Regions from separate parts of the Homo sapiens genome. Here all the other regions are linked to region 4. The links are contacts of gene promoters, found by promoter capture Hi-C in human tissues and cell types (Jung and others, 2019). All regions are on one chromosome and are shown on one strand. The core of a region is centred on a gene start or on the middle of the fragment in contact, and the rest is flanking DNA. Distances in the headings are between cores, read along the strand shown.

Region 1 (2,862 bases), core at 152-2,651, 100 kb after region 4:
AAGAGCATGGGCTTTGGAGTCAGACTAATTTGACAGAGGAAATGCCGAATTCTGCCTGGAATTCCTCCACTAAGGAAAAGAATTCTAATCCTCACCATAACCTAAATCATTTGTGATATACTCCAAAATATTTGCTTATAGTGGACGTCAGTGAAAATACTAGAGTTCTCGTTATAAAAATGTTTAAATTTTTGTCTTTTTAAAAAATTGTATCGTTGAGTAGCATCTATTGTTTAATTTGACTTTTGTCATAGGAATTTAAGCTTGTAAAAAGTTCATGAACAAACAGCCAACCCCTTTTTTACTGCGGATTAAAACAGGAACTGATTGCTAAAGATTAAATATTGGTAATAGTTCTCAACTTTATAAATTAAAAGGTTGGAGGCTCTTAAAAGACACTTATTCTCCTCTTGCCCTGCTAGAAAAGCAACATCTTCTGCAAAGTTGTCCACCCTTGTGATAAGGATGACATTAGAGATGATGTCACCAAACAAAACTAGTACCAAAGCAAATCAATACAGATTTTTCTCTCTAATCTTAACTATGCAAAGTGCTGGGAGTTGTGAGGAACCGTGACAAACTATTTTCTGGATAACTGAAAAATAAATGAATTACATTTTTTATCTTAACTCTTCATGTTGACTTCAAAGTCTAACACGCATTTTTATTTTAGTATTCTAATTTGCCCCAAATGTTACTGAGTTGGCCTTTGATTCCATATCTTATATTATCTTTGGCCAACATGTATAATAATTATAAACACTTTTTGTCAAGTAGCATAGTTGTAGGAAATGGAGCTTTGGCTGAAAGCAGGTGTACTGACTGCAGGTCAGTCCATTGGAGTTTAAGTGGCTCTTTAAAATTTTTCTTAAGTAATATTTTTGTTGTGATTTGGAACTTTGAGGGAAAGAAATGTATATTTACTGAGTGACTATATGATTCAAGCACACTCGTAGATTTTCCACTGGGAGGTATCTTAATCACACACCATCCTGAGTGACACCAACCATCAATTCCACTCTTTAATGAGAAATCTGAGCCAGAAGTAGACATTCCCCCTCTGTCAGATTTGATTCCAAAGTCTATGCTCTTTCTAATGGTCCACAAGGCAAACATGTTCCAACTTGTTCGGTCTGTAATAGGTTCCAAAAGTCTATGGGGTTGGGGGGTTGGGGGGTTGGGGGAGAATGCATGGCTTCTTATATGAAAAATCTCTTACAAGAACTGTAGAAGTTTACAATGTTGTTAGCCTCAGTTTTAGTTTTAAGATCTTTTATTGTGTATTCAAAAGGTGAGTACCACAAAGATGTCTAAAACTTAAAGTTTGCAAATCCAAGTTCTCTGTCTTCCCCATTGAATCTATTTTTATTCTTTTAGCCAAGGCTCAATTACAGAGGTGGGAACACATGGACAAACTGAAGTGTTGTCTCTGCTCAGTGACAAACATTTCATACCACACCAACCCCCAAGGGAGCTATTGAAATTTTCATTACAGATGGAAAAACTAAGGCGAATGATGCCTGATGTCACATCCTAGCTGTCTGATGCCAAAGCTCATCTTTCAAGTACAATGGGTTCCAACATCCCACATACAAGGTAGAAACTTGGAAATCAATCTAGAATTCTTCTTCTTCCTTACTTCTCACATCTACTTGTTCACTAAGTCACATTCATTCTGACTCTCAAACAGCTTGCTCCATCCCCACTGCTATTGCTTTTATTTGAGTCCTCGTGTTTTCTCACCTGGTCTTGAGCAAGAGCCTCCTCACTAAACTCTTGAATGTCTTTCATCCCCCCACCCCATCACATACACCCCATAATATACTACACTGCTGCCAGAATGAACTTTCTAAGCTCCAACCGAATTATATCCCTTGTTTAACATCTCTCAGTAGGCTAACGGAGTGGCTTGTGCTTGTAATCCCAGCACTTTGGGAGGCCAAGGGAGGATCACTTGAGCCCAGGAGTTCAAGACCAGCCTGGGCAACATAGTGAGACCTTATTTCTACGAAAACTTTTTTAAAAATTAGCTGGGTGTGGTGGTGCGAGCTTGTAGCCCCAGCTACTCCAGAGGCTGATGTGGGAGGATTGCTTGAGCCCAGCATGTTGAGGCTATGGTGAGCTGGATGACAGAGCCAGAGCCTGTCTCAAAAAAATAAAAATAAAATAAAATATTTCAATGGTTCACCATTCTCTGCTATTTGAAGTCCAAACTCTTTTCATCAAAAAAGGCCCCTCATTATCTCACCCCTAGAGTCTTTTCACTTTCTCAACTACTCCCTCATGCAACCCCGCCAACCCCCTTATAGTTCTTGATTTAACTACACAAATATGTCTTAAACCCCTGCAATGTGCCAGGCACTGCACTAGGCGTGAGGATACAGCAAGGAACATGGCAGAAATAGTCATTGGCTCCATGAGGTTATGAGTCTGAAACACACATTAGTAAGTAATTACCTCTGTGATGAATGCCACAAAATGGTAACTGCAAGGGCACATGGCCAAATGTGTCAGGGAAAGCGTGACATTGAGCCTGAGATGTGGAGAATGCCATGAGTTGGTCCAATCCAACAAAGATGAGAGGGAAACCGTAAGTAGATAAGCAGTACTTCTTCTGTGCTGCACAATACCTTTGACATACCTTCATGCAAATTCCTATGGTGCATTTGGCTGTTTATCTCTGCCACCCCCACAACACTGAAGACTTCATATGCACAGGGACAGTGCACTGGTCACAGTTTGTAACCTCATCAGTTACTATGTCTGGCACATCTGAGTGTTCAAATGTCTGTTGGTGATGATGGTGATGACACTAGGTACATTTTATGTGATATTACTATGACATATTGATAAATTTTACAA
Region 2 (2,864 bases), core at 229-2,728, 110 kb before region 4:
AGCTATTTAGGAGCTAACCCAGTATAAACAGTTCCTCAGTGTAAAGAAGCAGCCGAATTGGTGTCAACAATCTTACTGTGGGTCAAAAACATTTAATAACCACTCAGTCAAAACCCAAGTTGACATTTTTACAAGATACAGTGCTGATTCAGGCTGTGAGATTGACCTTCTGCCTCAGTTTCTCTGTATTACACTCCACTCTGCCAGTATTACCAAAGCTGGGCCTTGGACTTTCAGCCAATCAGCAGGGGTCTTGAGGCTTTATTGGGCCTATGCTCACTCCTTCTTCCAGGAGCACACCCCATACCTGCGAGCGGGAGGCCCACCATTCACTCATTCTTTCATTTAACAGATAATTATTTACCATCTATTAGATAGCAGGCTCATGCTTGGCACAGAGCACATACAGGATACAGAAATGAAAGAAACAAAATCTGTACTTTCAAGAGCACTCTGGAACGCAGAAGAAACCTGCCTTTCAATCAATAATTACAACACAGTGTGTGCCAAGAACAGCATTAAACGTGTTCAGGATGAAGAGCTAACACAGAGATAGGAGTGGCTGGTAACATCAGGGAGGAAGGCAGGAAAGCCTTTCTAGAGAAATACAGCCTTTCTGGATTTTGAAAACCAAATAGTTTGTCAGAAAAATAGAGTAAAGCTAGAGAGGAAGAAAGAACAATTGAGACAGAAGGAATGGAGCATCGGCTAGGCTCACAATCCTTCAACTTCTACCCCTCACCCCGAGGACCACTCACCTTCCTGCCTCCTCTGGCCACCATGCTCTGCTTAATGAAATGGGGCCCCTGGACAGCACTGGAATTGACCACATCTTCCACTTCTGTGGATTCAGTATTTTAATTCTTGGCCAAGCTTACAGGGGCCAGCAGTCCCAGCCACAGCCAGACTGTCTCAGATTCTGTCCATGGTCCTGAATCATTCCTCCTCCCCTGGTCCTTTAGTTGCGATCCCAACAGGTGCTGCTTCCAAATTCAACTAAATTATGTCCCCAAGGATGTCATTGAACACTTCCTGGATAAAGAATACTTCCTGGATGAAGAGGGGGACAGAAAGTAAACTGGACCTGGAGGATGATAAGATTTCAGTGGGTGAGAGAGACAAAGAATTTGAGGTGGGGGTTGGGGTGTAGAGAAGGTAAATCCAGCCTTGGCACTGTGAGGGAGTGGTGTACTCCTCACTGAGCAGAATGAGGAGGAACTTAAAAGGTGAATATTTACATTGGAAAACACACTATTTCAAGCAGAAAGTTTCCAAGCAAACTGTCACATAAAGGCACCAAGGGCATGGTGTATCCAAACAATCCTGAGCATGAGACCTTGTCCCACCATGGGTCAGAGTTGAGCAACATTCTGAAGCTCCAATTTGTCCTAAGTGAACCACTGTGCAGAACTAACGAGGTCATCAATTTTTCTTCCAGCTAATGAGCTCGTCAGGAAGGGCGTGATGTGGGAAGATGATGAGATGAGCAACCAAACCTGATTAAATAGTTTCACCTTCATCAAAGAATCAGACACAGAGCTGAGGCCCCATTATTCACTGGGAAGGGATAATTACATAGAAGAGGCTGCCATCAGAAACACCTCTCCCCTCACCCAACTGGCTCTGCTCCCTCAAGTACAGGGAGTGTGTTGGACCCAGGAACAGACACTCATTTAATTCAACAACTATTTACAGGCAGCTTGCTCCATGCCAGGTGTGGACCAAGAACAAAGAATGAAGATGAATAATACCTTGTCCTTGCCTTTAAGTAGTTTATGGTTGATGTAGTATGGAATAACAACTAACTGAAATATGCTATGGAATGTCCTCCCAGCATTTCAAACAAAGTGCTGTGGGCATAGAGGCGAGGAAAGGAAAAGAGAGAACCAGGGACGTTGTCTCATAGGTGGTCACCCTTGAGTTGGGCTTTAAAGATGAGTAGGGCCAGGTGTGGTGGCTCACCCTTGTAATCCCAGCACTTAGGGAGGCCAAGGTGAGAGGATCACTTGAGCACAGGGGTTTGAGACCAGCCTGGGCAACATAGGGCCTATATTTTTGCAGCCATTTTCTCTTTTGGTCATTTGGTTATAGCAGTTTAACTTAACCTTAACTGATGTAGAAATTGATACCATAGGTGAGGTGCTGCCATAACCCAAACCTAAAATAATAGCTACCACTATTGTCATGCTTTATTCCTTCACTGTTCTTTGCTTTTTTTTTTAAATTTTATTTATTTATTCTTTTTTTTGAGATGGAGTCTTGCTTTCTCGCCCAGGCTGGAGTGCAATGGCGTGATCTTGGCTCACTGCAACCTCTGCCTCCTGGGTTCAAGCGATTCTCCTGTCCCAGCCTTCCAAGTAGTTGGGATGACAGGCATAAGTCACCATGCCCAGCTAATTTTTGTATTTCTAGTAATGACTGGGTTTCACCATGTTGGCCAGTCTGGTCTCAAACTCCTGACCCCAGGTGATCCACCCACCTCGGTCTCCCAAAGTGTTGGGATTACAGGCATGAGCTACGCTTGTTGCCTTCTTAAAACATATCATATTCTGCTTTGTAACTTTTTTTGCTTCCTTGATGAACTCCACTACTAGACATTAAGTTCTTTTAGGGTATGGACTGAGTCTTAGTTACCTCTTCATTCTTGCCACATCCAGCCTGGTGTCCTCAGGTAACAGGCAAAAAAAGTTTCTTGAATCTACTCTGTACTCAGAAGTCTTGAGACACTATGTATTAGTTTCAATTCAATTCCCCTTTAGGGAAGAAAAGTTATGTCCTTAAATAGCTATTTCCTCCAATGCCTGACATACTATGAGCCAGTAACTCTGACGTGCATTCATGGCATGATATTAGATTCTTGTGGC
Region 3 (2,720 bases), core at 220-2,719, 65 kb before region 4:
TGAGCCTCAAGAAGCCTGCAAAAGGGCCAGGTGCAATGACTCATGCAGGTAATCCCAGCACTTTGGGAGGCCAAGGCATGTGGATTGCCTGAGACCAGGAGTTCAAGACCAGCCTGGGCAGCATGGCAAAACCCCATCTCTACTAAAAATACAAAAAAATGACCCGGGCATGGTGGCACAAACCTGTGGTCCCAGCTACTCAGGAGGCTGAGGTGGGAGGATCACCTGAGCCCAGGAGGGTGAGGCTGCTGTAAGCTGAGATCACAGCACTGCACTCCAGCCTGGGCAATCGGAGCGAGAGCCTGTCTCAAGAAAAAAAAGAAAAAAAAAAGCCTTAAAAAGTTTATACCCTTTGACCCATCTCTATCCCTTCTAGGAGCCTTTTGTAAAGAAACTAGCCTACATACCTAAAAATGTTTATGCATTTATGTTAGTTACAGCCTTAATAATAACAGTGAAAAATTGGAAAGAGATTCCCTTATTTTGACTCATTTAGGTTAAGTAAACTATGCTATATCCAGTGAATTATCATACATCTGTTAAATACATTTACAAAGATATGAAATATATTTACAAGCTTATATTTATAAATATATTTATAAATATATGTTTATATACTATAATTATTAATGTATTAGTATGTTCATTATTATATAAATATAATACGGTTAAGTGCATTTACAAATTTATATTAACAAGAGAAATATGTATGTTATAATGTTAAATTAAAATTGCATCTCTGGTCATTAGGGGGAAGCAGTTTCTAGTATGTTGGAAAAAATTTACACCTTATATAAAGGAATGACTGGAAGTCAGTGTACCAGTTTTGTCTCTAAGTGTGAAACTATGATTGAGTTTCCCCCTTCCCTCTACTTTTCTACAGTGTCCAAATAATCTGTGCACAATGAGTGGTGATTATAATATGGAAGTAAAGTTTAATTTTGGAACTAAATGGGCAAGGATATTTGCCTCTATTGCGAGAGGTGGGCAGCAGACAGACTGGAGGAGTTTTGATCTATTATTTGGTAACTCCATATAAGTCACATTCCTTTTAGGGCTGGGGTTGGGTCTGGGTGTGGTGGCAGCTCAAGGAAATCATCTTTCTATTTCTAACTCTGAATTAGTTTTCCATATGGGGTGAGGGATGGAGAACATCCAGTCGGAGCGAAAATTCTCAGAGAGATGCCCATAGGTCATTCTATGAGATAGGAACATAAGAACCTTCTTCGCCAGTCGTTTAAGAGCTCCACTTGCCTGTAGGTGAGAAGATGACACCCATGAGGAAAAGACAGGCAGGGAGCTGGCAGGGAAGGAGGCCAAGCAGTGGACCAGTGGAGTGGTGGGGCTTGGGGCATGGCTAGGAAGCAGCTAGCCTGGACTTGAGAAGTTTGACAGTTTTATATGTTTCTTATACTTCTTTTGTTCATTTCCTTTTGGCTTTCCCTTGGCATCTGATAACTGGCTTTAAGACCAGTCTCTCTCGAGCTATTGCCTGTGCTGTAACCAGAGAGTTGAGGCAGGACAGGTGGCAGGAACTGCAGACCAAATGCGCTTAGCCTCTGCCTGTCCTTTTGGAGGAAGCCAAAACTCATGGCTGTTTATATTGTCATCATTTGGTTAAGGCCAAAAGACCATTTTCAGATGTCTTTTAAGTTACTTTTTAATTTATACTTAAAATTACATAGCCATATTTTGCTAGAGAACAAAAAGTATATTCATAACTTGAAGTCTGAATTTTTGCTTAAGTTTGCGTCAAACTTGCAGAAGTCACTCGTCAAATCCTAATGGAAGTGTCCTAAAGACCATGTCTACAAGGGGTTGAATCCTTGGCTGACGCTTTGAGGTGTCACCTGCGCTGACACCACTGTGGCCTCCTGATTTGGGCCAGGGCCTCACCTCCTCTTGTGGGCACTACCTTTATAGCTCCCCTTCTCTGGGTTAATTTCTGATGAATTCTTACCAGCTTGCTGCTTGTCACCTGATTGTCAGGGTCGCAATGATTGGATGGAAACGCAAAATACAGGGAATCATGCAACCCCCTTTGATCAGGAGTCAGACCTCTCTCTCCCACCCCATCCTACCCTTGAAAAAAAAAGAGGCACACTGCGTAAGAAAATACATCAAGGCGATATAAAACAAGAGAGTGTGGGGGCAGGAGTGTAGTGATTTAAGCTTTTCAGAAACTATTTTTCAGAACAAAAGACTGGCAATAAGGAAAAAATTTAATTGTACATGACAGTAAAAGCAAAACTAGCTGGGTGTAGTGGCTCACACCTATAATCCCAGCACTTTGGGTGGCCGAGGCGGGTTGATCATCTGAGGTCAGGAGTTCGAGACCAGCCTGGCAAACATGGTAAAACCCCATCTCCACTAAAAATACAAAAATTACCCGGGCGTTGGTGGTGCACACTTGTAATCCCAGGTACTCTGGAGGCTAGGGCAGGAGAATCGCTTGAACCTCGGAGGCGGAGATTGCAGTGAGCCAAGATTGTGCCACTGCACTCTAGCCTGGGCAACAGAGTGAGACTGTGTCTCAAGAAAAAAAAAAAAAAGCCAATTATGCTGTTTCTGTTAAGCAAATTTTACTTTCACATTTTAAAAATAATCCAGAATTTAAATGACAAGGGAATTTATAAAATTATATGTATGTGTGTATATATACTTATATTTATTTATTTATAGGTGTGACTCCACAATTCAGCAACTGCTGTGCTGCCTAC
Region 4 (2,816 bases), core at 72-2,571:
ATTTCATAGCAATTTGATGATGATGATGATGACGGCAGCGACGACGATGAGGATAATGATAATAATAATAATGATTCATTTAACCCTTCCAAGGCGAATCCGAACCGAAGGGAGCCTGCTGCTCGCACCAGGCGGAGTGACCCAAGGCACATTCCCCGCTCCCCAAGAAGGAAAACTCTATGGTTCTTTCCCCAAGTTGTAGAAGATACTGCTGTCTTAGTGGGATCGCAGGCGGCTTTTGCTACACTCTAAATCCTAAATAAGTTCTCCATACCAAAAAAAGCGGCAGTTGGGGGATGGGGGGTGGGAGGTTGGGGGGGTGGGAGGGCTGGGAAGGGGAGTTCCGGGTGTAAAATGAAAACTTCCAGGATGTGCCTGAGTCCTAAAGTTTCAAACCACCTGGGAAAAGCGAGAGCCCCTGAGGCTTACCTGGTGATAAACTGTGTCAAACAAACTCAGGCCCTCCCCAGGTCCGCACAACATTTGCCCCAACAGCTCCTGAGCCTCCATCCTGTGTCCAACCAAATTCCCGGAGGACTTTTAAAGCAAATACCTGGACTCTTCGCCCAGATACACTATTTTAATTTTTAAAAATTTGGTCAATACAGTTACATTCAAAATGGGTTCTTACATGGGGATGTCCAATCACATTTTGAAAGTATTTGTAAACCCCATCACTTTTTCAAAGCTACACACTAACTATACAAAGCTGAAGCAGCTGCATAGGAAAGTCAAGTCAAATTTCGACCTAACTCTCCGGGGACTGGGGGGCAAGGGTGTGTTTTCATTATTATAACCCATGCAACCAACCCCGGGTAGTGCTAAGCGCAGGAAAAGGGTCGGCTTCAGGGGAAAGCCGTGCCTAAAGTTACCTAACGATACAAACCGGATACAACGCAGAGGAAACAGAATACCCCAGCCAAGCAATTTCCATGTCAAACATCATCCGCGCGGCTGCTCCATCTGTGAACGTGAGTGGTCGCCTGGCTCCCTCTTCCGCGGCGGCCGCTTCCTCATACCTTCACACGGCGCACACCGGCCGGCGCGTCCAGCTGCCTGCCCAGTGGCCGAGGCTCTTCCCCCTCGCCCAGTCTTGAGCTGGAAGTGATTCCTATTGGCCAAGGTGTCCATGTAAATAGGTGTGAAAGAAACCAGAGCTGGCCGGGCTCTCCCTTCTCGCTCAGTCCCCTCCCTCTGCAGCCCCCGCTCCCCCTCCTCTTCCTCCTCCTCCCAAGGCGATTGTCATATGATAGCTAAGAAGTGGCACATTAATGAAGCGCCGCTACAGGGGTCTTTTCTGCTCCTGTCACCGCTTAAAACTATCAGATGGTTCGAGGGAGGACATGGAGGCAGCCACCTAGCTCAGCGGAGACGCGGAGCCCACAGCAGCGCCCTCCGGAGCCCTAACACGTCGCTGCCACCATCCGCGCCGGGACTCCGCAGCCGAGCTCGGCCGCCCGCAGGACGCTCCAGGAGCGTCGCGGACCGGGCGGCACGGGACGCTGCGGGGCTGAGCTCAAGAGCCCAGGTTCGCGCCGAGTCCAACCGGACCCGGACGCTGCGCGCGGAGTGCGCGTCGAGTGCGCGCCGAGAGAGAAGCGGCGCGCAGCGGCGTCCTCCCGGATGCGGACGCGCAACTTGAAGCAACTTTAAGGTGAGCAGCTCTCTGTTCCGTCCCTGCCCCCTATTCTGGCCCCAGTACCGACTTACTTCCCGGCTATCCTCGCGCCGTTCGCCGGCTTCCCCTCCCGCGCCCACTAAGCCCGCAAAGTTGCTGGCGAAAGAGTCCGGGCGCTGGCTGATCGAGCGCCGCAGGCCCCACCCCCGACCCCCGAAGTCTGTTACTCGGTCTGGCTGACCCCGCCGGTGTCTCTGTGCATCCATGCTACCTTTCCCTATTACCCACCCCCTTCCCAGATCCGAGCAGTCCGCCGGCCCGCGCGGACCCAGAGCAAGAAGAGGGCGAGGAAGAAGATGCCTCGGCCCGGCCGCAACACGTACAGCGACCAGAAGCCGCCCTACTCGTACATCTCGCTGACCGCTATGGCCATCCAGAGCTCTCCCGAGAAGATGCTGCCGCTGAGCGAGATCTACAAGTTCATCATGGACCGCTTCCCCTACTACAGGGAGAACACGCAGCGCTGGCAGAACAGTCTGCGCCACAACCTCTCCTTCAACGACTGCTTCATCAAGATCCCGCGGCGGCCGGACCAGCCAGGCAAGGGCAGCTTCTGGGCGCTGCACCCAAGCTGCGGGGACATGTTCGAGAACGGCAGCTTCCTGCGGCGCCGCAAGCGCTTCAAGGTGCTTAAGTCCGACCACCTGGCGCCCAGCAAGCCAGCCGACGCGGCGCAGTACCTGCAGCAGCAGGCCAAGCTGCGGCTCAGCGCGCTGGCGGCCTCGGGCACGCACCTGCCACAGATGCCCGCCGCCGCCTACAACTTGGGCGGCGTGGCGCAGCCCTCGGGCTTCAAGCACCCCTTCGCCATCGAGAACATCATCGCGCGGGAATACAAGATGCCTGGGGGGCTGGCCTTCTCCGCCATGCAGCCGGTGCCCGCTGCCTACCCGCTCCCCAACCAGTTGACTACCATGGGCAGCTCGCTGGGCACCGGCTGGCCACACGTGTATGGCTCCGCCGGCATGATCGACTCGGCCACCCCCATCTCCATGGCGAGTGGCGACTACAGCGCCTACGGCGTGCCGTTGAAGCCGCTGTGCCACGCGGCGGGCCAAACGCTGCCCGCCATCCCCGTGCCCATTAAGCCCACGCCGGCCGCCGTGCCCGCGCTGCCTGCGCTGCCAGCGCCCATCCC

Evidence for each region. Contacts are between HindIII fragments. The study calls those that stand out against the background at their distance.
Region 1: a fragment that was not itself captured here is called in contact with the fragment with the promoter of FOXB1 in region 4 in 3 of the 25 tissues and cell types used here (liver, mesendoderm cells and spleen).
Region 2: a contact is called between a fragment that was not itself captured here and the fragment with the promoter of FOXB1 in region 4, in 4 of the 25 tissues and cell types used here (heart left ventricle, small bowel, spleen and 1 more).
Region 3: a contact is called between a fragment that was not itself captured here and the fragment with the promoter of FOXB1 in region 4, in 2 of the 25 tissues and cell types used here (dorsolateral prefrontal cortex and spleen).

Annotation. Positions count from the first base shown.
Region 1 is chr15:60,103,405-60,106,266 of GRCh38, forward strand. No RefSeq gene overlaps it. Among named protein-coding and RNA genes, the nearest start is that of FOXB1, 100 kb to the left of the region's middle. The HindIII fragment of the contact is 4,415 bases long and covers 1-2,862 here.
Region 2 is chr15:59,892,222-59,895,085 of GRCh38, forward strand. No RefSeq gene overlaps it. Among named protein-coding and RNA genes, the nearest start is that of FOXB1, 110 kb to the right of the region's middle. The HindIII fragment of the contact is 6,082 bases long and covers 1-2,864 here.
Region 3 is chr15:59,937,778-59,940,497 of GRCh38, forward strand. No RefSeq gene overlaps it. Among named protein-coding and RNA genes, the nearest start is that of FOXB1, 65 kb to the right of the region's middle. The HindIII fragment of the contact is 4,772 bases long and covers 1-2,720 here.
Region 4 is chr15:60,002,990-60,005,805 of GRCh38, forward strand. FOXB1 (forkhead box B1) reads left to right here and starts at 1,322. Exons shown (of 2, transcript NM_012182.3): 1 at 1,322-1,654; 2 at 1,918-2,816. The coding sequence starts at 1,975. RefSeq lists an enhancer at 1,003-1,518. The HindIII fragment of the contact is 14,342 bases long and covers 1-2,816 here.